Linked DNA regions of Homo sapiens: regions 1, 3 and 4 are each linked to region 2. Evidence: promoter capture Hi-C in human tissues and cell types (Jung and others, 2019). All regions are on one chromosome and are shown on one strand. Each heading gives the region's core, a stretch centred on a gene start or on the middle of the fragment in contact. The rest is flanking DNA. Distances are from core to core; before and after follow the strand shown. Region 1 has its middle 13 kb from the start of KCNN1. Region 2 holds the start of TMEM221 (transmembrane protein 221). Region 3 holds the start of CPAMD8 (C3 and PZP like alpha-2-macroglobulin domain containing 8). Region 4 has its middle 22 kb from the start of CCDC124.

Evidence for each region. The method cuts DNA at HindIII sites, captures the fragments that hold promoters and counts their contacts. A contact is called where the count stands out against the background at its distance.
Region 1: a contact is called between a fragment that was not itself captured here and the fragment with the promoter of TMEM221 in region 2, in 7 of the 25 tissues and cell types used here (aorta, bladder, dorsolateral prefrontal cortex and 4 more).
Region 3: the fragment with the promoter of CPAMD8 here is called in contact with the fragment with the promoter of TMEM221 in region 2 in 1 of the 25 tissues and cell types used here (lymphoblastoid cells).
Region 4: a contact is called between a fragment that was not itself captured here and the fragment with the promoter of TMEM221 in region 2, in 3 of the 25 tissues and cell types used here (hippocampus, lymphoblastoid cells and spleen).

Annotation. Positions count from the first base shown.
Region 1 is chr19:17,952,199-17,956,547 of GRCh38, reverse strand. It overlaps a transcript of KCNN1 not described here. Among named protein-coding and RNA genes, the nearest start is that of KCNN1, 13 kb to the left of the region's middle. RefSeq lists enhancers at 3,487-4,104, 4,105-4,349 and a silencer at 4,292-4,341. The HindIII fragment of the contact is 4,437 bases long and covers 1-3,708 here.
Region 2 is chr19:17,447,306-17,451,546 of GRCh38, reverse strand. It overlaps TMEM221 (transmembrane protein 221), which reads left to right and starts at 2,879. Exons shown (of 3, transcript NM_001190844.2): 1 at 2,879-3,404. The coding sequence starts at 3,085. RefSeq lists a silencer at 2,746-2,865. The HindIII fragment of the contact is 11,612 bases long and covers 1-4,241 here.
Region 3 is chr19:17,025,109-17,029,265 of GRCh38, reverse strand. It overlaps CPAMD8 (C3 and PZP like alpha-2-macroglobulin domain containing 8), which reads left to right and starts at 2,456. Exons shown (of 42, transcript NM_015692.5): 1 at 2,456-2,715. The coding sequence starts at 2,624. RefSeq lists an enhancer at 1,376-2,284. The HindIII fragment of the contact is 4,679 bases long and covers 1-4,157 here.
Region 4 is chr19:17,908,927-17,912,789 of GRCh38, reverse strand. No RefSeq gene overlaps it. Among named protein-coding and RNA genes, the nearest start is that of CCDC124, 22 kb to the left of the region's middle. The HindIII fragment of the contact is 5,842 bases long and covers 1-3,863 here.

The DNA.
Region 1 (4,349 bases), core at 241-2,740, 510 kb before region 2:
TGGTCTCAAGCTCCTGAGCTCAAGTGATCCTCCTGTCTTGGCCTCCCAAAGTTCTGGGATCACAGGCATCAGCCACTGTATCCAGCACAAAACACTTAAGCTTAATTGATGCCCCATGAAATTCCACAAGGGCTGACCTGGGCTGGCCTTTGTCCTTATTGCATCCCAGCATCCAGCCTAGGGCCTGGCAGACAGTAGCTAGCTTGCTCAGTGTTTGTTGATTGACTAAATGACCACCACCTCTGTTTTCTCCACACCCCCATGGGCAGCTTAGTGCTGACCCTGGATGTCAGTCAGTGTTCACCAAGGAGGCCTGGCTCAGTGGCTCACGCCTGCAATCCCAGCACTTTGGGAGGCCAAGACAGGTGGATCACCTGAGGTCAGGAGTTCGAGACCAGCCCGGCCAACATGGGGAAACCCCATCTCTACTGAAAACACAAAAATTAGCTGTGCGTGGTGACGCATGCCTGTAATCCCAGCTACTTGGGAGGCTGAAGCAGGAGAATCGCTTGAACCCGGTGGGGTGGAGGGTGGAGGTTGCAGTGAGCCAAGATCATGCCACTGCGCTCCAGCCTGGGCGACAGAGTCAGACTCTGTCTCAAAACAAACAAACAAAACAAAACAAAACAAAACTAAAAAAAAAAAGTTCACTGGAGAAAGGAGCACAGGAGCTGCCTTCCACAGAGCTGGCCTACCCTGGGGGCTGTCTCCAGCGAGACCACGAGAGCCGGGAAGTAGAGGCTGTGTGTGGGGGGCGGGGGCGGGAGTGGTGGGACAGAGCTCTTCCAACCTGGCTCAACACCCCACTTCTAGGTCATCTGGCCTCTCTGAATAGTTTCCCCAACTCCAGTGATCAAAGAAAGTGGACAGTAACTCCCCGGAGGCTCTAGAAAGCATAGTCCTTGCTATCATCATCATGATATATATGATATAATAATAATTATATTATTATTTTTTTTCTTTCTTTCTTTTTTTTTTTTTTTTTGGAGATGGAGTTTCACTCTTGTTGCCCAGGCTGGAGTGCAATGGCACAATCTCGGCTCACTGCAACTTCCGCCTCCTGGGTTCAAGTGATTCTCCTGCCTTAGCCTCCCAAGTAGCTGGGATTACAGGCATGCAGCACCATGCCTGGCTAATTTTGTATTTTTAGTAGAGATGGGGGTTTCACCCTGTTGGCCAGGCTGGTCTCGAACTCCTGACCTCAGGTGATCTGCCTGCCTTGGCCTCCCAAAGTGCTGGGATTACAAGCGTAAGCCACCACGTCTGGCCTTTTTTCTTTTTTTTTTTTTTAATTAAAGAGATGGGGGTCTCGCTCTGTCGCCTAGGCTGGAGTGCAGTGGCCATTCACAAGCGTGATCATAGCTCACTGCAGCCTCGAACTCCTGGACTCGATACTCCCACCTTAGCCTTCCGAGTAGCTAGGACCACAGGTGCACGCCACTGTACCCAGCTTGTTATTATTTCAAAAGCTGGCACTTTTTCCTCAGGTCACCTTTTTTTTTTTTTTTTTGAAACAGAGCTTTGCTCTGTCGCCCAGGCTGGAGTGCAGTGGCGCGATCTTGGCTCACTGCAACCTCTGCCTCCCGGATTCAAGTGGTCCTCCTGCCTCAGCCTCCCAAGTAGCTAGGATTGCAGGTGCCCACCACCATCCCCGGGCAATTTTTGTATTTTTAGTAGACACGGGGTTTCGCCATGTCGGCCAAACTGGCCTCAAACTCCTGACCTCAAGTGATCCACCTGCCTCAGCCTCCCAAAGTGCTGGGATTACAGGCGTGAGCCACCTAGCCTGCCCAGTTACCAATTTTTCTATCCAACCCCTGAGCCACCCCCACCCCCAAAGGCGACCCAAGTCTGGGATTCACTCACCCTAGGGTGCAGGGGTCTCCTCGCCGAGCCACTGCAAAGGGGCTGTCCCCTTCAGTCCTGCTGGTGACCACTTGACTGGGAGAGAGGGTGGCTGCTGCTGCCTTTCCTGTCCCTTTGAGATCTGTAATGATCAGACAGGGGGTGCGGGGTGGAGGCGGGGACCCAAAAGAGTAGGGTGCAGACAGCTCCCGGACTACAGTGGTCTTTCTTATTTTTTATTTTTTTGAGACAGAGTCTTGCTCTGTCACCCAGGCTGGAGTGTAGTGATGTGATCTCAGCTCACTGCAACTGCCGCCTCCAGGGTTCAAACAATTCTCCTGCCTCAGCCTCCCAAGCATCTGGGATTACAGGTGCCTGCCACCATGCCCGGCTACTTTTTGTATTTTTAGTAGAGATGGGGTTTTGCTGTGTTGGCCAGGCTGGACTTGAACTCCTGGCCAGAGGTGATTCACCTGCTTCAGCCTATTACGTACAATGGTCTTTACAGCAGATCTGCGCTCTGGCTTGGTGTTGCTGAGCTGGGTCATCTCCTAAGCTTTCAGGAAGCTTAAGAACAGTGGCTTTATCACTCCAATGGGGCCCTGGGCTAGCCCCACCTCTTCCATGTCCCCTCCCTAAGGCCACTCCTCCTTTCACTGGGCTCCAGAAGCTAGACACTGAATGCTTTATCTGTCTTTCCCAATGCTGTTCCTGCTCACCCCCTCACATTGCCCCTAGTTCCTTCGCCATGGGGAGATCTAGGTGGGTGACATTCAGGGAGGTGACATTTTGTCACCCAGGCTGGAGTGCAGTCGCATGAACATGGCTCACTGCAGCCTTGACTTCCCGGGCTCAAGCGATCCTCCCACCTTCGGCCCCCAAGTAGCTTGGACTACAAGTGTGCACCACTACACCTGGCTAATTTTTTTAATTTTTTGTAGAGACAGGGTTTCAGTACGTTGCCCAGGCTGGTCTCGAACTCCTGAGCTTGCCTCGCCCTTCCAAAGTGTTGGGATTACAGTTGTGAACCACCTCGCTTGGCAGAGCAGCTGAACTCTTGCTCCCCAGCTCTGAAGCTGCCCTGGGAGCCTGTAGCTCCCTTGGCGTGCTCCCTCCATCTATTTAGTGCTGTCTGCAGAGGGCTTATAGAAGCACATGGTACCCAAGTCCGATCCTGGAGAAGAGGGCAGAAAAGGACACCCCATGGAGGGCAGGGGCAATGCCAGACCCCAGAACAGGACTGAAGGGGAAACCCCCAGCTGCCCTTTCTCTCACCAGGACCTGGGATCGGGGCAATGGTCACCTTGGATGGCTCAGGGGCCACCTGTTCCAGCCAGGGGGACTTGGTGCTGACCCTAGCCTTGGGAGGGCAGGGCCTTGTCCAAGGTCACTCAGCGGGTTGCTGCGTCGGAGTAAAAATTATCTCCTCCGTGGCTCCAGAAGCTTTGACTTCCCCATCTATAAGCCCCCTCCCCCCAGGGATTTCCTTTGATGAGGTCTTGGGCAGCCTGAGGAGGCTGGGAGCGGGGGCACACGGGGGACAAGAGGAGGTGAGATCTGGGAGCCCCGGAAGAGAGCGAGGCCGGGGCTTCTTGGCTCAGTCCTGTCTGGGTCTCTAGCCAGAGGAGAAACTTGGAGAAAGTAAGGAATCCCCCCAGTTCTGGGGCCCTGGCAACCCACGCTCAGGGTTAAACGGCGGCGGGGGCAGAGGATCCCAAAGCTGACCTCCCCAGCTGGGTCCCGGGATTCGTGGATCTGACCAGAAACCTGCTCTGCCCCAGCCCAGCTGGGTGACCTTGGGCGAGTGGTAACCCTCTCTGGGCCTCAGCCCCTCCTCCTGTCCGGGAGAGGGGAGGGGGGAAGGGAGGGAGCTTAGGGAAAAGAACAGGAACCCGGAGCCCAGCGCACAGTAGGCTGGCAGGTGGGGGGTTCCCTCCTACTGCGCAGCCTGGCCAGCACAGGGAATCCCCGCCACAACGCAAGGAGAAAGGGAGAAACCTGAGGGGACAGAGAGGGAGGAGGGGGCAACGGGAACCAGCGGTGCTTTCCCCCCACCACTGAGGAGGGTGCAGGCGTGGAGGATCCCCATGTCCCCACCTTCACCTCGCGGAGGGAGGGGGATGTCTGCGCTTCCCCAGACCTGGAAGCAGGAACCCCCTCCTCACAGGGCATGGGGGTGGGGTCAGGAGCTGACTCCCGGGATCGGTGTTGGAGGCGGGGGTTGAAGAAGGGATGTCCCCCTCCTCCCGCAGCTCCCCTTTGAATTCCCGGAGTCGGGCAAGCTTTGACCAATCCGCCCACCAAAGAGAAGGGGACCGCCGCCGGGACCGAACGCTCCCCGCCGTGCCCCCCACTGCCACTCACCGGCCGGAGTCGGCCGCCGCAGCCGGAGTCCCTGCGCCCTGCCCGAGCGCGAAGACAAGTGCACGGCCGGGCAAGGGCGTGTGAGCCGGGAGGGTGTGCGCGCGCCGCCGCAGAGCCGACCCCCTCCCCGCCGACCTGGG
Region 2 (4,241 bases), core at 1,630-4,129:
TGTGGTGGCTCACTCTGTAATCCCCCAGCACTTCAGGAGGCTGAGGTGAGAGGATCACTTGGGCATAAGAAGTTTGAGACAAGACCAACATAGCAAGACCCCATCTCTACAAAAAAATTTTAAAAACTGGCTGGGTATGGTGGCTCACACCTGTAATTCCAACACTCTGGGAGGCCGAGGTGGGAGGATCACTTGAGGCAGGAGTTTGAGACCAGCCTGGCCAACATGGTGAAACCCTGTTTCTACTAAAAATACAAAAATTAGCTGAGTGTGGTGGTAGGCACCTGTAATCCTGCTACTTGGGAAGCTGAGGTGCAAGAATCGCTTGAACCCGGGAGGTGGAGGTTGCAGTGAGCCGAGATCTCACCACTGCACTCCAGTCTGGGCAACAGAGTGAGAGTTCATCTCAAAAAAAAAAAAAAAAAAAAAGGCTATTATGAGGAAGGAGGAGGCTGGGTGTGGTGGCTCACTCCTGTAATCCCAGCATTTAGGGGGACTGAGGTGAGAGAATCACTTGGGTATAAAGAGTTTGAGACCAGACCAACATAACAAGACCCCATCTCTATGAAAAAAAAAAAAAAACTTAAAAATTAGCCAGGCATGCTGATGCTTGCCTGTGGTCCCAGCTACTTGGGGAGAGGCTGAGGCAGAAAGATCACTTGAGCAGGAGGTCAAGGCTGTAATGAGCTATGATCACACCACTGCAATCCAGCCTGGGTGACAGAGCAAGGCCCTGATAAAAAAAAAAAGAAGAAGGAGGAGGAGGAGACGAGGAGGAGGAAGAAAGGAGGAGGAGGAGAAGGAAGGGAGGAGGAGGAGGAGAAGGAAGAGGAGGAGGAGGAGGGCAGGAGGAAACACGTGTTGGGGAGGATGTGCAGAAAATTATTTTTAAAAACCTCAGACATTGCTGGTGGAAATGGAAAACGGTGCAGCTGCTGTGGAAAAGTTTGAGGGTTCCACAAAGAGTTAAAATAGAGTAACTATGTGACTCAGCAACTCCACTCCTAGGAGTCCACGCCCCACAAGAATTGACAGCAGTGACTCAAGAAGATACCTGTGCACACATGTTTATAGCAGCATTAGTCACCTTCACCAAAAGGAACCAACAACACAAATACCCATCAATGGATGAACGGATGAACACAATGTGTTCCAGACACGCTATGGAATATTACGCAGCCATAAAAAGGAATGAGGCACTGATCCATGCTACAACCTCGATGAACCTTGAGTACATCATGCAGAGTGAGAGAAGCCAGAATGCCACCTCTTGTATGACTCCATTGATATGAAGTGTCCAGAACAGGCAAATCGACAGAGACAAGAAGTAGATTAATGGTTGTGAGCCACTTGAGGAGGGGGAATGGGGAGTGGCTGGTAATGGGGATGGGGTCTCCTTTTGGGGGGATGAAAATCTTCTGGAGCTAGACAGAGGTAATGATTGTACAACACTAAATGCCACTGAATAAAATGATTAATTTTATGTTATGTAAGTTTCATCTCGATTTTTTTAAAGTGCTGTGCGAATAATTTGGGGGACCAGTTGGGGAAGGGATCCAGGATTCTCCCTAGCCTCCTAGAGGAAGCAACGGTTACCCAAAGGCTTGAAGGAAGTAAGCAGAGGGGAAATCACAGCCAATGACAGAGTCCCTGGGTTGAGATCAAATGAAAAGTGAATTTTTAAATTTTGTTATTTCTTTTTTGAGACACAGCCTCGCTCTGTCACTCAGGCTGGAGTGCAGTGGCGTGATCTCAGTTCACTGCAGCCTCGACCTCCTGGGCTCAAGCGATCCTCCTGTCTCAGTCCCGAAAGTAGCTGGGTCCACAGGCGTGCACCACCACACCAGGCTGACTTCCTTATTTTTTGTAGAGATGGGGTCTGGCTATGTTGCCCAGGCTGGTCTCAAACTCCTGGGCTTAAGCCATCCTCCTGCCTCAGCCTCCCAAAGTGCTGGGATTACAGTTGTGAACCACCTCACCCAGCCCTTTCTCTCTCTCTCTCTTTTTTTTTTTTTTTTTTTTTGATGGAGTCTTACTCTGTCAGCCAGGCTGGAGTGTGCAGTGGTGCAATCTCGGCTCACTGCAACCTCCGCCTCCCTGATTCAAGCATTCCTCCAACCTCAGCCTCCCGAGTAGCTAGGATTACAGGCCATGCACCACTACGCCGGGCTAATTTTTTTTTTTTTTTTTTTTTTTAGTAGAGACGGGGGTTTCACCATGTTGGCCAGGCTGGTCTTGAACTCCTGACCTCAAGTGATCCGCCCACCTCGGACTCCTAAAGTGCTGAGATTACAAGCGAGAGCCACCGCGCCCGGCCTCCTTTCTCTTTATTTTTTATTTTTTAATTAATTAATTAATTAATTTTGAGACGGAGTCTCGCTCTGTCGCCCAGGCTGCAGTGCAATGGCGTAATCTCAGCTCACTGAAACCTCCGCCTCCTGGGTTCAAGCAATTCTCCTGCATCAGCCTCCCGAGTAGCTGGGATTACAGGCTCCGGCCACCACGCCCGGCTAATTTTTGTATTTTTAGTAGAGACGGGGTTTCACCATATTGGCCAGGCTGGTCTGGAACTCTTGACCTTGTGATCCGCCCGCCTCGGCCTCCCAAGGTGCTGGGATTACAGGCGAGAGCCACCGCCCCCGGCCTCCTTTTTCTTGTTTTAAACCACAATACAATCGATGCTTAGGGCGGCAGGGGGCGGGGTGGTGCCCTTTTCTGAACTTAGCGAGCTGTGGGGTTCCCGCGATCCAGTCCCTAGTGGGGCCTCCCCGCCCTGCGCCCGGTGCCAGGCCCCGCCCCGCCAGGCCCAGCGGACCAAGAGGGGGCGCCCGCGGGGCCCCGGGAGGGAGGAGAAAAGACTTTGTCCCAAGTTTTCGCGGAGATTCGGCGTCCCGGCTGCGACCAGCACCCCGGAGCCCCCGTCCGTCTGGCGACCCCCAGCCCAGTCCCCGAACTTTCAGACACTCCCTGCGGCCCCGCCCCCTCGGGGACCCCCTGAGGACCCTCGGATTCCCCCCAACTCCCCTGCCCTCTAAAACCACTTCAATTCCTCAACTCTTCCCCCGGCCCGCAGGAACCCCCGCCATGGCCCGTTCTTACGGCGGCCGGGTGCTGGCTGCAATGACCCTGCTGGGCATCGCGGCGGCCGTGCTGGCGGCGCTGGGCGCGCAGCTGCTGTTTCAGCTGCAGGCGGGCCGCGCCGAGCTGCGGGGGCTGCGCGCCGAGGGGCTGGGCCAGGAGCTGGGCGCCGGCCCCGGGCTGCCAGAGGACGCGGCCGGGACGCTGCTGCCGCTGGCCGCCGCGCTGGCCGCGCTGGTGCTCGTGCTGGGGTTCACCTGCTTGCTGCTCGCCGCGCTCTGTGGCCACCTGGGCGCCGAGCTGGCGCGGGGGCCTGGCCCCAGGAGGTAGGAGGACTGGCCTCACCGCCTCGGAGGCCCGGCTGGGGGCTGGGTGAGCCTGGTTGAGCCTCTTCCCCTCTTTTGGCCTCAGGCTGGGGGGACAGCTTCCCTCCCCACTTCCCTCTCCCCACCACTCCATGTCTCTCTGCCTCCCTCCTTTCCTCTCCTCCTCCCTCCTTCCCTCCCTCCATTCTATATTTGTTCAATTTTGCAGCAGGTGCAACCACTGCTGTGTCTCGCATTTTGCAGATGAGGAAACTGAGGCTCAAAGAGGGTCCAGGATCAGCTTGCCTGGATCTCAAACAGGGGAGGCTGAGCTCTCAGGCTGTCTGGCTTGGAAGTGGGTGGGAGGCGGGACAGTGCTGGACTTGAACTTGGTTCTGGGTAGAGCCAGCCAGAGCCTGTGTCCTGGTCTGAAATTGAGTTCCTTCCTCAGGGACCTGAACTCAGTCAGGGATGTGGTCATTGAGGGACCCCTATCAGGGGCAGTGGTTGTGGAAGGAGGAACCCTCCTTGAGCTGAGGACTCCGCTGTCCCACATGGTAGTGTTTCTCTCCAGAATGTCGGGGGAGAGGAGCCCAAATTCTAGTCCAGAATTCTGTGAAATTGAGCAGATGAGAACTCCCACCATTGAGGTAGATCCTATCCAGACCATGCACCTTCCACCCAAGGGACAATGAAATGCATGGGTCCCACGGGTCAGCAAACATCTGTTGGGTGCCTGCCTGCAGGGGAATGGATCTGGCTCAGGGCATCAGAGACAGCGGGGACCAAGTGGACCCAGACCTGCTCTCATGGGGTCACAGAAAATAAGGAAACATAACAAGGACAAGGCATGGTGGT
Region 3 (4,157 bases), core at 1,207-3,706, 420 kb after region 2:
GGCTAATTTTTGTATTTTTAGTAGAGATGAGGTTTCACCATGTTGGCCAGGCTGGTCTTGAACTCCTGGCCTCAGGTGATCCACCTGCCTCGGCCTCCCAAAGTACTGGGATTACAGGCATGAGCCACCACGACTGGGCATGGCTTGTTTCAATAACTTCTCAGCAGCTAGGGAAGTGAAGTCTGTGGCTGATGGGTGGGGTGCAGCTGGTCTGGTTGCTTGGTGAGACAGCCAGGTGGAGAGCAGCTTCTCTTGCCAGGCAGGGGGCATATTTGGCAAGAGTAGCTGAACGGTCGGTCAGGACATCGTGGTCCTGTGTGGCTCAACCATGCCAAGGCAGCACTGACATTTTAGACCTTACAAACCAGGCAGGCAGGGAAGGCACCTCCGGGCTAACCCTGAAGGTGGAGGAGAGCAGCCGGTCTTGTGATGCCACGGGGAAGTGCATCCCAGGCAGAGGGGACAGCTGGCACCTTGGCCCAAGATGGTGGTGGTGGGTGGGGGTCTGATGTATCTCAGGAGCAAATGTGGCCAGAGCCCAATGGTCAAGGGGGAGGCGGAGGGCTCAAAGGCTGGCCTGGAGGCTGAGGAGTGGAGGTTGGCTTAGGTAGGAGTCAGAGTTGGCCTGGAGGGGCCCGGAGGGGTGGCATGGGGCAAACTTCGATGATGAGGGTGAGATCAGATGCTGCTTCTTGGTGCTAGATTTTTGCACCTCCATGTGAGTTTAGCAGCCTGTTTGGGGTTGGCCTGGTCTGAGCTTGGAGGCAGGCAGCTCCTCCTCTTCTCCAGGCAGGAGAGACGGCTACTCAATCTACTCCGGCCCCTGCGCGCGTGCACGCACACACACACACCAACACACCATCATCAGTTACGTCCCCTCTGGGTTGTGTGCTCAGTGGCAGCAGGTCCTGTATGTCCCAGGGTCCTCATTGCCCAGCCCAGGGCTTGGTGCTGCCTGGGTGATCAGTGTTGGGTCCAAAGGCTGTTGACAGGGCTGAGAAGCCCCCAGAGGACCCACATCCCTAGGGGCAGGGAGGGGGCAAGAGAAGCTTCCCTTGAGTTTCCTGGAAGGATCAGGAGTTGGACTGGCAAAGGAGGCAGGTAGAGGAAGACAGAGATTAGGCAGAAGCAGGCAGTGGAGTAAGAACAGGGTGTTGGAGGAACTAGGCTGAGGTCTCTGCCATCAAAGCCAGAGTTTAGATTTGGTCTCAATAAACGGGAAGCCCTGGCTGGATGTGGTGGCTCACACCTGTAATCCCAGCACTTTGGGAGGCTGAGGAGGGAGGATCATTTGAGCCCAGTGCTCAAGACCAGCCTGGGCAACACAGTGCGACTCCGTTTCTAAAAAAAAATATATAAAAATTAGCTGGGTGCGGGCTTGCACCTGTAGTCCCAGCTACTCTCCAGGAGTCTGAAGCTGCAGTGAGCTGTGACTGCACCACTAAATTCCTGCCTGGGCAACAGAGCAAAACTCTGGTCTCAAAACATAAAAATAAAATGTAAAATAAACAGGGAGCCCCGAGGATTCCGGGCAGGAGGGGGTGTGGTCAGCACTGGAATTTTAGAAGAAGGGCAGTTGGTAGCTGGGGGAAGGGGGTTCCACACTGGAAGGAGGGGGTCCAGGACTTGGACATGGTATAGGATGTGCCGCCTGCCAGTGGGACCTAGGACAGCAGGACCATCACTGAGGTGGCCACACGGGGAGGGGCAGGAGGGGACACCCTGCTCTTGGAGAGAAAGGGGGTGCCCATCCACCCCTGCTGTATGAAGGGGAAAGGGGGACTCTGAGGCCCAGCGAGAGAGGGGACGGGCCCAAGGGATTTGTGGACAGTGGGGGTGGGGGAGAGGGGAGCAGAGAGCACAGATAGGGACCTGGGGCAGATGTGAGTCTGGGAGGTTCGACCCCTGGCTAGACTGTTTCCCCAAAGGGTCCTCTGCTCCTTGGGCTGTACGCACTGCACTGGGCACTAGATACAGGCCAGGGCTTAGGGCACGGCGGCGCCTGTGGGATCGGGGTTGCAGGCGGCGTCCAGACCCAGGGGCCCCTGGTGAGGGGCGGGCCCGGGGAGGGGGCCATAAGGGGCTGGCTGGGGAGGGAGGGAGGGAGAGGCCAGGGAAGGGACAGGTTCCGAGTGGACGCTGGGTGGAGAGGAGAGGGAGAGTGGGGGCGGTGGGGGGTCGGGTCCGAGGCGGGGCTGGTGGGGAGGGGGGCATCCGGGGGCGAATCCGGGTAGGGGGTGAGGAGGCGGGTTCGGAAGGAATCGGGCAGGGCCCGGGTGGGTCCGGTGAGTAAGTGAGGGGACGATCCCCGGAAGGGATCGGGGCGGGTCGGGGTCCGGAGATGGGCGGAGCAGGCGTCCCGGGAGGGTGCGCCCAGGAGCGGGGCGAGCGGGGCGAGCGGGGCGGTCCCGGAGACGAGGCGGGTCCGGGGAGGGGGCTGGCCCGGGGCTGCCCCAGCTTGGCCGGGCGCGGAGCGGGGCGCATGGCGCCGGGCGCACTGCGCGGGGGCTGCGAACAAAGGGCCCCCGGCGGCGGCGCGAGGACGGCCGCGCTCGGACCCTGGCCCTGGCCCAGCCCTGGCCCGGCCCCCTCCCCAGGCGCGGCGCCCCCCAGGAGCCGAAAAATGAGCGGCGCCCTGCTCTGGCCGTTGCTCCCGCTCCTGCTCCTGCTGCTGTCGGCGCGGGACGGCGTGCGCGCCGCGCAGCCTCAGGCCCCGTGAGTATCCTCCGGCGACAGAGGAGGTCGGTCGCCTTCTGGGGTGGGGGTCGCGGGTACTGGCTCAGAGTGTTGCAGCGACCTGCCCAAGGCCACACAGCCTCCGCGCTGGGCTGGACCTGGCCTCTTGTTCCCGAATCGTCTTGAGGAGGGGGCGCCCTAAAGTTTCCGAAGTGGCTCTGTGGAGGTACAGGGACTCCCAAAAGCTAAAGGTGCTGAGGTCAGCTCCCCCCGCCCCACCTCGCCCCCTTCGTGTGACCCGGGCTGTCATCATGGGTGGCGATTTCCAGTTGTCCAAGGTATGAAGGTAAGAGGAGCGTCTTGGCTGAGAAGTGGGAGGAGAGTGCGAAGGGGCACTTTCCCGTGGGTGGGCGTGGTGAGGGAGGAGGAAGTGTTTGTTTTGCTTCTACATTTTTCTAGAGGTTTGCTTGCAGGCTTCTGGTGGGTTGACAGCGGGGAGAAGGTGAATTAACTAACTGCTGGGGAGTACTGCTAAGTTGGCTTCACAGAGAATATTTCTAAACCTGGCAAGTTCGGGTGAGCTCTGCAGGGCTGCGGGTTCAGGGGGGCTGCCCTGGTCTGCACAAGACCAGCCTTTTAGTCCAGCTGGGCGTTTAGAAGGCGGCTTGTTCAAGCAGCCCTTGTTTAGGAGTTTCCAGAAAACTGGTAAGCAGTGAGACTAGGTGGGTGTCGTTATTTGCAGTGAGTAGTTGGTCCTTGCTGGTCACAGTTTTAAAAGCAAGACAGTCTACTGCGCTCTGAGCATCCAGACTTCCCTCTCCTAGGCTTCGTGAAATCGGAACCCTACAAATTTTCATCCTAATGCTTCTTTCAAAGCTGGCATCCCTTAGAATAGTGGTTCTCAGCCCTGGGGGGGATTTTTGTCTCCCTGAGGCCGCTGGGAAATGTCTGGAGGTATTTTTGGTTGTCACAAATAGGGAGAGGCATTTGGTGTTGGCATTAAGTGGGTGCAGGCCAGGAATGCTGGTAAACAGCTTTCGATGTGCAGGTCAGCTTCCACTGCAAGGAATGACGCGGCCCCACATGACAGACCTTGGCTCCAATGAGAGACCCTGCCTTATACAGAGGTTTTTGTTTGTTGTTTGTTGTTTTTGGGGTTTGTTTTTGTTTTTGTTTTGAGATGGAGTTTTACTCTTGTTGCCCAGGCTGGAGTGCAATGGCACGATCTTGGCTTACTGCAACCTCCGCCTCCCAGGTTCAAATGACTCTCCTGCCTCAGCCTCCTGAGTAGCTGGGATTACAGGCGTGTGCCACCACACCCGGCTAATTTTTTGTATTTTTAATAGAGATGGGGTTTCTCCATGTTAGCCAGGCTGTTCTGGAACTCCTGACCTCAGGTGATCCACCCACCTCCGCCTCCCAAAGTGCTGGGATTAGAGGCGTGAGTCACCGTGCCTGGCCCGTTAGAGAGTTTTAAACAG
Region 4 (3,863 bases), core at 835-3,334, 460 kb before region 2:
GGCAGGAGAATCGCTTGAACCCAGGGGGTGGAGGTTGCAGTGAGCCAAGATCACACCACTGTATTCTAGCCCGTGTGACAGAGCAAGACTCCACCTCAAAAAAAAAAAAAAAAAAAAGAAAGAAAGAAAGAAAAAAAGAAACAGCCGTCGTTACCTAACCCCAGGACCAAACAAGAAACGTCAGTGTTTCTGGAGTCTCCAACAGGACTCAGTCCCAACACCTCTGCTCCCCATGAATTCAGAGAATAGCACTGGGGCTGGAAGGGCCTTCAGTAGGTCCAAGGCCAGCATGCACAAGACCCACTGCCCAGAGAAGAGGGAGATTTGGGTCCTCCAGTGGTCCCCAAGCCAGTTTCTTTGACAGATTGAGGAGGTCCAAGCAAGCTGGTAGCCTCTGTGTCCCCCAGCCTCAGGCCTCAGTGTCTGGCACTCCAGCTTCACAGGCGTTTGCAGTGGGGCATCCTCAGGGAATAAAAAGTTTTGTGAAGACCTGGAGATCTTTTTTCAAAAGCACAATTACAGGTTTTCACACAGACTAGTCTTCATTCATACCTAAAACTCTCATTTCTGGTAGAAAATATGCACCAGTGAAAAACAGGGCATGGGGCTGGGTGTGGTGGCTCATGCCTATAATCCCAGCACTTTGGGAGGCTGAAGCAGGAGGATTGCTTCAGCCCAGGAGTTCAAGACCAGCCTGGGCAACTTAGTGAGTTGCTGTCTCTACAAAAGATAAAAAATTAGCTGGGCATGGTGGTGTGTGCCTATAGTCCCAGCTACTCGGGAGGCTGAGGTGGGAGGATTGATTGAGCCTGAGAGTTTGAGGCTGCAGTGAATCAACATCTCCCCACTGCACTCCACCCTGGGCAACACAGCAAGATTCTTTTTCTAAAGAAAAGTTTAAAAATAAAAATAAATAGTCTGGGCAGGGTGGCTCATGCCTGTAATCCCAGCACTTTGGGAGGTGGAAGTGGGCAGATCACTTGAGGCCAGGAGTTTGAGACCAGGGTGGCCAACATAACAAAACCTCATCTCTACTAAAAATACAAACATTAGCCAGGCCTGTGGCGCACACCTGTAGTCCCAGCTACTCGGTAGGCTGAGGCAGGAGAATCGCTTGAACCCAGGAGGCGGAGGCTGCAGTGAGCTGAGATCGCACCACTGCGCTCCAGCCTGACAACAGAACGAGACTCCGTCTCAAAATAATAATAAATAAATAAATAAATAAATATTTGGTCTTTTGACCCCAGTTCCTGACAGAGTGATGGGAGTGTCTGACATAGAGCTCCTAAATCCCCTAGAGTTTCCTGGGTGATAGGAGCGTCTTTGGTTCTAAAAAGATGACTCTTGGTGGGTTCCTGGGTGGGGACCAACAAGACCAAGCCATCATTAGAAGCTTGGAGCTTTCAGCCCCACCCTCTTTCTCTGGAGACCGGAGAGGGGCTAGGGACTGAGTTAATAATCAATCATGCCTTCATAATGAAGCCCCCATAAAAATCCCCAAAAGATGGGGTTTGAAGAGCTTCCGAGTTGATGAACACATCTGCAGGTTGCAAGGGTGGGGTATCCCACTCTATAGAGACCATTGTGTCTCAAGGCGGGCTGTTTTGTGGGATTGAGCCCTTAACCTGCGGGATCTGATGCTGTGTCCGAGTAGATAGCATCGGAACCAAATTGCATCAGAGGAATCCCAGCTGGTGTCCACTGGAGAATTGCTTACTATGTGGAAAAAATAAAGACAACCCACACATCTGGTGTCAGAAGTGTGGTGTTGAGTGGGATGTGTGTTTTGTTTGTTCCTCTTACATTGTGTTTTGAAATAAAACCAATACTCAGCCGCAAAGCAACCGCATTGGTCACCCTTCTGCAACGATTGTGTTAATGTTTTTCTTGATTTCGTCAAACATGAGAGCCGCAGGGGTCTGCAGATTTTCATAACAAGGCCTCCAGGACAAATTGGCTCTTGAAATTATTTTGTGATTAAAAAGAAAAAAGAAAAGCCAAATTTAAAAAAATAAATTAAAAGAAGATTTAATAAGATTTATATGTATTCAAAAGAAGATTTAGTAAGATTTGTATGTATTCACCAGGAAACATGTTTTATGATTTGTTTTGGAAGGGCAAAAGCAATTTCCACAGTAATGTGAATTTTGTAATCTAATATTCTTTTTTTTTCTTTTTTTAGATTTTTGAGGCAGGGTCTCACTCCCATCACCCAGGCTGAAGTGCAGTAGCATGATCACAACTCACTGCAGCCTCAACTTCCCAGGCTCGGGCGATCCTCCCACCTCAGCCTCCTGTGTAGCTGGGACCACAGGCATGCATCACCATACCAGGCTAATATTTGTATTTTTTGTAGAGATGCAGTTTCACCATGTTGCCCAGGCTGGTCTCAAACTCCTGGGCTCAGATGATCGCCCCACCTCCCAAAGTGGTGGGATTACAGGCGTGAGGCACTGCACCTGGCTCATTTTTCTAAGAAAAAAAAAAATCTTTCTGTCTAGATTTTTTTTTTTCATGTTTGAGGGCTCTGCATTGCTGGGGCAACTGTGGATTTGACCAGCTCCTTGAACAATCCATTGCCAGGTCAGGACTTGGAGAAAGCAACGTGGATGACCCAGAGAGGGGCAGCGACTGGCTGCAGGCCACACAGCAATTTCATCAAGATTCCATCCTTAGGCCAGGAGTGGTGGCTCACGCCTATAATCCCAGCATTTTGGAAGGCCTAGGTGGGCAGATCACTTGAGGTCAGGAGTTCAAGACCAGACTGGCCAACATGGCGAAACCTTGTCTCTACTAAAAATATGAAAATTAGCTGGGTGTGGTGGCGGGTGCCTGTAATCCCAGCTACTCGGGAGGCTGAGGCAGGAGAATCGCTTGAACCCGGGAGACGGAGGTTGCAGTGAGCCAAGAATATGCTACTGCACTCCAGCCTGGGTGACAGAGCAAGAGTCTGTCTCAAAAAAAAAAAAAAAAAAAGATTCCATCTTGGTGGGGTAGGTGGCATGAGGTGAGCTACCTCCTGAGAGCCACCAGTTTTGGGATGATCCTCAATCCCAGCCCGTCTCAGACCTGGCTCTGGGGAGAATAGGATGTAGGGGAGACCTTCCATCCTTGCCGTGCTGTGCCCCAGGTGGGCCTGGAGCCAGCTGCACCTGAAGCTGACACAGCCCTGGGCCTCGGTAGGAGGCAAGTGGAGTCATTCCAGTGGAAACTTACCTGCTTCCTGCCTGGTCTTGTCTTCTGCTCCACCTGGCTTCTTGACAACTCTCCCGCTGTACCAGAAAGAATAGGAATTCAGGGCCTCAGTATTGGCTTAAGCTACAGATACCAAGATCAGCAGGGGAGACAGAGACAAGCCTGTGGACCTGAAGGGGAGGGGCCCCACCTCCCAGCCATTTAGGAGAACATTCAACAGGGCTGCAAGACAGGGCTCAGAGGACGAGGAGGAACAGGAGGCAAGGGCACTGCCTGGGGTGCTGGGGTAGGCAGCAGGGTTGCCCAGAGGAAGAGGAGATTCTGGGAGGAGGCCTCTGGAGCTGCTTGGTTGAAGTCACCCAGTTGACCTTATGCAGAAGTTCCAGGATTCCTATGGGAATCGGCTCAGCTGCAGGGTACTGAGCTGCCAGGAAGAGGTCAGGGCTCTTGGTGCATGCAAAAATGCTGAATAAAACATTAGCAAATTGAGTTCAGCTGTGCTTTAAAAGACACTATACTAGGAGTATGCGGGGTCTTATTCCAAAGAGACAAGGAAAGTTCAGCTTTAGAAAGCTTCATTTATTCAATGAAAAGATAAAAGGAGAAAAATTCCACGTGATTATTTCACCATGGAAAAACTTTAGATAACATTCAGAAACCACTTTCCT